Linked DNA regions of Homo sapiens: region 1 is linked to region 2. The links are contacts of gene promoters, found by promoter capture Hi-C in human tissues and cell types (Jung and others, 2019). All regions are on one chromosome and are shown on one strand. The core of a region is centred on a gene start or on the middle of the fragment in contact, and the rest is flanking DNA. Distances in the headings are between cores, read along the strand shown. Region 1 overlaps GON4L (gon-4 like). Region 2 holds the start of ASH1L (ASH1 like histone lysine methyltransferase).

Evidence for each region. Contacts are between HindIII fragments. The study calls those that stand out against the background at their distance.
Region 1: a contact is called between a fragment that was not itself captured here and the fragment with the promoter of ASH1L in region 2, in 2 of the 25 tissues and cell types used here (liver and lymphoblastoid cells).

What each region holds. Positions count from the first base shown.
Region 1 is chr1:155,774,458-155,778,373 of GRCh38, reverse strand. It overlaps GON4L (gon-4 like), which reads left to right. Exons shown (of 32, transcript NM_001282860.2): 15 at 554-752; 16 at 1,893-1,979; 17 at 3,201-3,372. Among named protein-coding and RNA genes, the nearest start is that of GON4L, 81 kb to the left of the region's middle. The HindIII fragment of the contact is 9,147 bases long and covers 1-3,916 here.
Region 2 is chr1:155,560,536-155,564,166 of GRCh38, reverse strand. ASH1L (ASH1 like histone lysine methyltransferase) reads left to right here and starts at 1,364. Exons shown (of 28, transcript NM_018489.3): 1 at 1,364-2,014. ASH1L-AS1 (ASH1L antisense RNA 1) reads right to left here and starts at 2,125. Exons shown (of 2, transcript NR_147964.1): 1 at 1,881-2,125; 2 at 223-917. It also overlaps a transcript of MSTO1 not described here. RefSeq lists silencers at 1-149, 1,234-1,373, 1,424-1,573, 3,295-3,589 and an enhancer at 778-1,345. The HindIII fragment of the contact is 36,648 bases long and covers 1-3,631 here.

The DNA.
Region 1 (3,916 bases), core at 88-2,587, 210 kb before region 2:
AGGGTGAGGCAGGAGAATTGCTTGAACCCTGGAGGCGGAGGTTGCAGTGAGCTGAGATCGTGCCACTGCACTCCAGCCTGGGCGACAGAGCGAGACTGTGTCTCAAAAAATATTTAAATTTTGAAAAAAAAATGCAAGGCAGTGCAGCCTGAGTGGATAGGGAAATGGGACAAGCTGAACCTGGGATGGGAGTAACAAGTAAATGAGAGAAGAAATGAGAATGATGAGTTCCCACCAGCTCCTTGGCTGCTTTCTTATCCAGATATTTCTCTGTTCCTAGCATTTTAATTTTTTCTTTATTTGTATATTATTTAGAAGAGGAATTTTAGAGGAATGGGATAGAGTGTAATATAGAATCATCATATTTGATGCATGCTAACTACTTTGGCAAAAGATTTGTAAAAGGCTGAGAGTTTGACTGTTGGCTAAAGTGAGATGGGGGATTAGTAGGGAATGAAAATTGTTCAGGCTCTTTGCTCATCATTGGAACGAATTGGATGTGTTGTGGACCTACGGAAACACTCAAATTCAGTCATCTCCCTGTTGGGAATAGGTTTGAGGAACCACTGGCCAACCTGTTAAATGAACAACATCGGACAGTGAAGGAGCTATTTGAACAGCTGAAGATGAAGAAATCTTCAGCCAAACAGCTGCAGGAAGTAGAGAAGGTTAAACCCCAGAGTGAGAAAGTTCATCAGACTCTGATTCTGGACCCAGCACAGAGGAAGAGACTCCAGCAGCAGATGCAGCAGGTAGGACTTTTCTTGGTCATGTTAACATTGGATTTTTTTTTTTGAGACAGAGTCTGGCTCTGTCTCCCAGCCTGGAGTGCAGTGGCCCGATATCGGCTCACTTCAACCTCTGCTTTCTGGGCTCAAGCATTTCTCCTGCCTCAGCCTCCCAAGTAGCTGGGATTACAGGCATCCACCACCACACCCAGCTAATTTTTGTATTTTTAGTAGAGACAGGGTTTCACCATATTGGCCAGGCTGGTCTCGAACTCCTGACCTTGTGATCCGCCCGCCTCGGCCTCCTAAAGTGCTGGGATTACAGGCGTGAGCCACTGCGCCCTGCTGTTAATACTGGATTATACCAAGGCCTAACTCTGAGGCCAGAAATTAACAGCTTTGTAAAAGTCAGAGATAGTTACCTTACCACCTCCTAAAACCATAGTATCTTCACATCATTAGGAGCTCGAGAAGTCATCATGTTCATGCCTTATGGCTCAAGGAAGAGAGCACACAAGGACACTAATGGTATTCAGAAATATAGATTTCAAAGAGTCCTTAGTAATCTATTCTGAAATTTAACAACCTTCACTGTGAGAAGTAGGTTTGTTTTTCCTTTTTCTAACCTCAGTCCCTCTGGATTGAGGTTAAGCTTCCTCTGGTTCTGTCATTTTGTTCAAGGGAACATGTCTGAGAGATTTATGCCAAGATCCTATGTTATTTTCATACTCCTTTCAGAAAGCAAAATATATGTGATAAAGTTGCAAACATCTTGGTTATTGTCTCTCTGGGGGCTGGGTTACGGTGGCTCACACCTGTAATCCCAGCACTTTGGGAGGCTGAGGTGGGAGGATTGCTTGAGCCAGGGAGTTCGAGAGCAACCTGAGCAACATAGTGAGACCCTGTCTCTGCAAAAAATAAAAATAAATTAGCCAGGCATGGTGCCATGCATCTGTGGTCCCAGCTACTCAGGAGGCTGAGGTGGGAGGATTGCTTGAGCACAGGAAGTTGAGAGGGCGTGGAGCCATGATTGCATCACTGCACATCAGCCTGAGTGACAGAGAGAGATCCTTTCTCCAAGAAGAAAAAAAAAAAAGATCTCTCTGGATTCCTGAAATGACAATGTGGTAACATGTCACTTCATCATTTTCTTTCCATCCCCAGCACGTTCAGCTCTTGACCCAAATCCACCTTCTTGCCACCTGCAACCCCAACCTCAATCCGGAGGCCACTACCACCAGGATATTTCTTGTAAGTTTCCAAATATCCATAACTCTAAAGACTAGAGTATGAAATTAGCTTGGCAGGTTATTTCTCAGTTATTCACTGATCATAATCTATATTTATTCTTCTCTCGGGTATTTTTGATTGTTTTGCCTGCTTTCTGTTAAGGCTTCCTGTGTTTGCTGAGAGAACGTAAGCCACTGATTCCCATGAAAGGACAAGGAGTGTATTCAATTTTCTTAATACTGTCTTTCTGATATTTTTATTGAATCCTCCTCATCTTTAGATCCAACCTAACTTCTTAGGTTTTTGGTACCACTGTTCGTTTTATAGATGTTGAGACTGGGCACGGTGGCTATGCCTGTAATCCCAGCACTTTGAGAAGCCAAAGCAGGCAGATTATATGACCCCAGTAGTTCCAGACTAGCTGGGGCAACATGCCGAAAGCCCGTCTCTACAAAATACAAAAATTAACCAGATGTGGTGGTGCGTACCTGTAGTCTCAGCTACTTGGGAGGCAGAGGTGGAAGGATAGCTTGAGCCTAGGAGGTGAGGGTTACAGTGAGCTGAGATCGCGCCACTGCACTCAAGCCTGGGCAGCAGAGTGAGACCCAGTCTCAAAATAAATAAATAAATAAAATAAAAGTAATAGTCCTAATTCTTGGCTGGGTGCGGTGACTTGTGCCTGTAATCTCAGCACTTTGGTAGGCTGAGGTGGCTGGATCACTTGAGGTCAGGAGTTCGAGAACAGCTTGACCAACATGGTGAAATCCAGTCTCTACTTAAAATACAAAAAATAGCCGGGCGTGGTAGCGGGCGCCTGTAATTAATCCCAGCTACTCGGGAGGTAGATGGAGAAGAATCGCTTGAGCCCAGGAAGTGGAGACTTCAGTGAGTCAAGATCGCACCACTACGCTCCAGCCTGGGCGACAGAGCGAAACTCCGTCTCGAAAAAAAAAAAAAAAATGAGTCCTCATTCTTCATAATCTTACTTCTAGTTCAGGAGCTAGACCATATATTCCTTAGTGTTTCTCACTAAGTCTAAAAGTAAAACAAGAATACAATCCCTGAATATCTGGGAACTCAGGCATAATCTTAACAGAGTAGTTTATTGTGAAAGACTTTATGATGATTTTTACCTGTTTTTATCCTGTAGTAGGAAGGTCAGCTTCTCATTTAGATTCTGAAGGCTACTGGTATTAATTGTCTGGAATTGTCTTAAATCTTTCTTGTGTCCTGTTTTCCCAGAAAGAGCTGGGAACCTTTGCTCAAAGCTCCATCGCCCTTCACCATCAGTACAACCCCAAGTTTCAGACCCTGTTCCAACCCTGTAACTTGATGGGAGCTATGCAGCTGATTGAAGACTTCAGCACACATGTCAGCATTGACTGCAGCCCTCATAAAACTGTCAAGAAGACTGGTAGGAGACAGATGTGTCAGCTTTAAGTTTTTACTTGCGGTGAGAGGTGGTGGGAATCTTATCCCATAGATAACTAAGGATACTTGCCTAGGAATGGAGGACACAGGACATTTGTAATTTCTTCCTTCTCTCTTTTATCCTCCCTTTGTACTCATTATCCAAGTTCTAGAATTACATGATAATCTCTGGGCCTGGGTAAAGTGTGGAGGCAGTGGACAGTATAGGAATATGGGAGGTAGAGATCTGAGGCTCAGTGCTAAGAATTGGACTACAGCAATATGAGGGGTAAGTATTAGGAGTCAGATCGAGATAAACTGGGGCCTGGTAAAGATGAAAGTCAGGTGGTAAAGTTTGGTCATGTTTAGCTTTTTACTGTCTTCATTAAGATCAACTAAGGCCAGGCGCGGTGGCTCACGCCTGTAATCCCAGTACTTTGGGAGGCCGAGGCACGGGGAACACAATGTCAGGAGATGGAGACCATCCTGGCGAACACAGTGAAACCCCGTCTCTACTAAAAATACAGAAATTAGCCAGGCATGGGGGC
Region 2 (3,631 bases), core at 115-2,614:
CCCAGGAGTCCACAAATGTGAAGGAAAGGGAAACCCAAGTAGATCCTTCCGGTAATTTATTCTGCTTTACCCTTTAGGTAAAGGTAAAAACTACTAGATCAAGTAAACTTTGGAATTATTTGTGGACTTTAATCGTCCGTATTTCTGCTGCATTCAATTATCAAATATCAGTCAAGTGTTTTGAGAAACAAATATTCAGTAGCCACAGAAACCTAACAGGCCTATGTTTGCTTTGTTTTATTAACTCCTTGGAGGGACAGAACACTACCAATTACACCCACAAACGTTATCGACATCAACAGAACTGTAAATGACAACACGGCAATATTCTGCACTTTCCCTATGCCTAGGAGCTAATTCCACTTTACATATATTATCTTATTATTTCACACATTAACCCTGGAGGCATGTTTGGAGTTGCCTAATTTTTATGTACACTTTTTGATAAGGAACTAACAAAAATAACTTGCTGAAGGAAGAAAAGGGAGACTAAGTCCAGAACTGAATGAAAAGCACATGGTTTCTTCATCCTCCATCACCAGGCTGTCTAACGAGGCTGAAGAAGTACCATCCATGAGTAAGTGCGTCAAGGGCAAACAAACATCATCGCATATGGACAGTGGTGTGAAATTCGAGAAATCCGAGGAGGGTTAACAACAACAAAAAGCACACCACCACGCCGATCTTCCTCGGGTCCCAGGTTGGCAACTCAACGCCCGGGAGGAATCCCCCCGGAGGCGCGCCGGTCCTACTGGCCTCACTCCCTACCTCCTGGAGGTCCGGAGTCCCGCTCCTTTCCCTCAGCGGTACAATACCCGTGTCGGTCCATTCCCTCACCGTGAGTCGAGGACTAGTTCTCCTGACTAGGCGACCGGCACACACCGCCTGCGACCAGCTCCACAGCAGCGGTCCTGCTACTGCGAAGTAGGCTCAGGTCAACCGGCAGGAAACGACTCAACGCGCAGCCGCCGCGGCCTCCAACCACCGGTGGGCAGAGGGGCGCTAGGCAGTCCTCGATCCGCTCGCCGCGATCCGGCGGAGGAGGAGGAGCAGAGGGAGGCGAGCCGCAGCGCTGCGGCGAGGAGCCCAGGGAGGTAGGTTGTCGTGGGGCTCGGTCCGCCATTCTGGCAATTCCAGTCAAACGGCAAGCCCCGACCCGCTCGGCCCGTCCCTTCCTCTCCTGCCCCTGCAGCCGACAGGAATGGAACAGTCCCGCGGGGGGGATTGTGGGAGGCGCACGCGCGAGGGGTGGAGGGTGGTAGGGGGGGCTGGCGGCGGCGGCGGCGGCCGTGGCGGCGGTTGGTGGCCGTGGGGGCGGGGAAGGGGGGGGAGGAGAGAAGAGGAGGTGGAGGAGGAGGAGGAGGAGGCTTGGGCTTGCGCCGTTGAAGGTACGCGTGAGGGCCTGCGCCGGCGCCGGCTTGACAGGGCCTGAGGGGTAGTGAGGGACTGGACGAGGGGGTTCCTGTGGGTGAGCGCGTACGGGCTGGCTGGCGCGCGGGGCGGCCGAAGGTGGTGGTTGGTGGGAGCAGCCAGCGACGAGCCCGTAGACACTCGTACGCGTGCGGGCGGGCGTGCGCGCTACGCGGACGGAGTCGGGCGGAGCGGGGGACGGTGGGAAAGAACGCAAGGAGGAAGGAGTGGAAGGTTGAGGGGGGCGCTAGGCGCCCTTCGCTCCCTCCCTCTGGAGGAGCTGCCGCCGCCACCGCCGCCACTCTGCTGCTGCCGCCGCCGCCGCCGCCGCTCCCGCCGCCATTTTGGGTTCGCTTTGCGGAGGGGAGACGATCCCAGTCTCGGTTGCGGGACCCGCCTCCCCTCAGTTTGCCCCCTTTAGCCTTCCACCTTTCCCTTCTCCTCTCTCGCATTTCCGCCAGTCAGCTTACCCGCTGGCCGCCTCCTGACAAGCGGGAGGGATCCGCCGTGGACCCAGGGAAGCGGAGGAGCCTGGCGGCCACCCCCTCTTCCCCACTTCCCTGCACTCTCATCGCTCTCGGCCTCGGCCTCGGCCTCCGACACGGTGAGTAGAACGATTTGGGCCGGCATTCGGGCCTAAGCACTCTCTCAGCGATTGAATCCTGGGCTTTCTGGGAGCCACTGTCATCTCCCGGACCTGGATCTCTGAGAGAGCAGTGGTGAAGATGGGGGAGGGGAGAGCAGGGAGGGGGATCCTGAGCCTACCGGGAAGTCCCTCCAGGCGGGGTGAAGGGGTGTCCCTGACAGGCAGACTCCCGGAGGGGGCTGGGAAGTAAGCGAGTGGAGGCGGAGTCGGCTGTGCCCCTGACAGGTTAGTTTGTGTTTGTAGGCATGATCGGAGCCTCCCCCATAGTCCAGTTTGTGTGTGTTTAATTAAGGGATAAGAGTGGTCGAGGACACGATCTTGAGAGGGGATTTTACCTGTGTGACAAGGTCTGTGGTGTCCCTGCCGCGTTGAACGGTATGTGGGAACGACAGGATGATCTCAGTGTTGTAAGTTTAATAAATGTCACTGGTTAGTTTGTACATGGAAAGAGATGTTTTTGGTCTAGCAGACAGATGGTCTGTTGGTGTGTAGCGGCTGTGTTGGTGTGTGTATGTGAGGATGGCAAGTGTTTCCGTAAGAGTTTGCCTTTATTTGTGTAAGTGTAATGGAGTTCCCCTTATAAGTTAGCTTATTTCTTGAATAAATGTTGGGAGGTTCCTTGCAGGTTGATATGTGTGTGTATTTTAGGGATTGGGAGCCCCTAGTTACTTGTTGGGAAAGAGCGGCAATGGTAGTGTTCTGTACAGCATGTGTCTGTGAGGTCAGGGAGGGGAGAAACTTGGCATAGCCAGTTGTGGTCTTAAGAATAGTTTGTGCCTTTGGTTAGAGTGAGTTGTGTAAATGTGAAGGGCCAAAATATCTTTAACAGAATCATTACTACAAAGTTGTAAAGAATGGGTGGCCTTATTTGTTGTCGCGGGTTTATAGTAATAGTTTACAATACAATAAGAAAGCTCTTTCAGTTTTTTTGTGATACTGAATCTCTGTGAAAATGGTAGGATGCTTTCTTCCATTTTACAAAATAGGAAATTTAGGCATAAGGAGAGAACTTCTCCAAGGCCGCATGTTAAATTGGTGACAAAGTTGGAACTGTAACTCCCATATTTTCACTACTACTGCAGCAGTATATTCAGCATACCATGGTGCCTCAGGAAGTCTTTGTCGGCAAATCTGAGTATGCTGGAAAGATAGGAGCACATAAGACTGGTTGGCTTGTATTTGGGGGAGACCGATTGTGTCAGATATGTATGTGGAACGTAGCTGTCCTTGCCGAGTCTGACCTGTATGAAATGCATATCCATGACTATATTATTTTGGATTTATGGAGGAAGCAGAGCATTTCTGACACTTGAGGTTGTATGTGTGAGGGAGAGAAGGCTTTCACAGCTTAACTTGTACCAGAGCAGCTGCATGGGTGCTGACAGCTTAACTTGAAATCTGTGGGAGGAAGGATCCTTTTTCATTCATTCAACAAATATTTGTTGACTGCCTGTTCAATAAATGGTCCATGCCTTGGCGTGAGGATAATCAAGGTGTCTCTGTAAATAGCCTGGGTACAACGTGAGGGGAGTTGTTTTGACAGTGGTGGGTATTAAGTTGAGGGAGGCGGTGTGG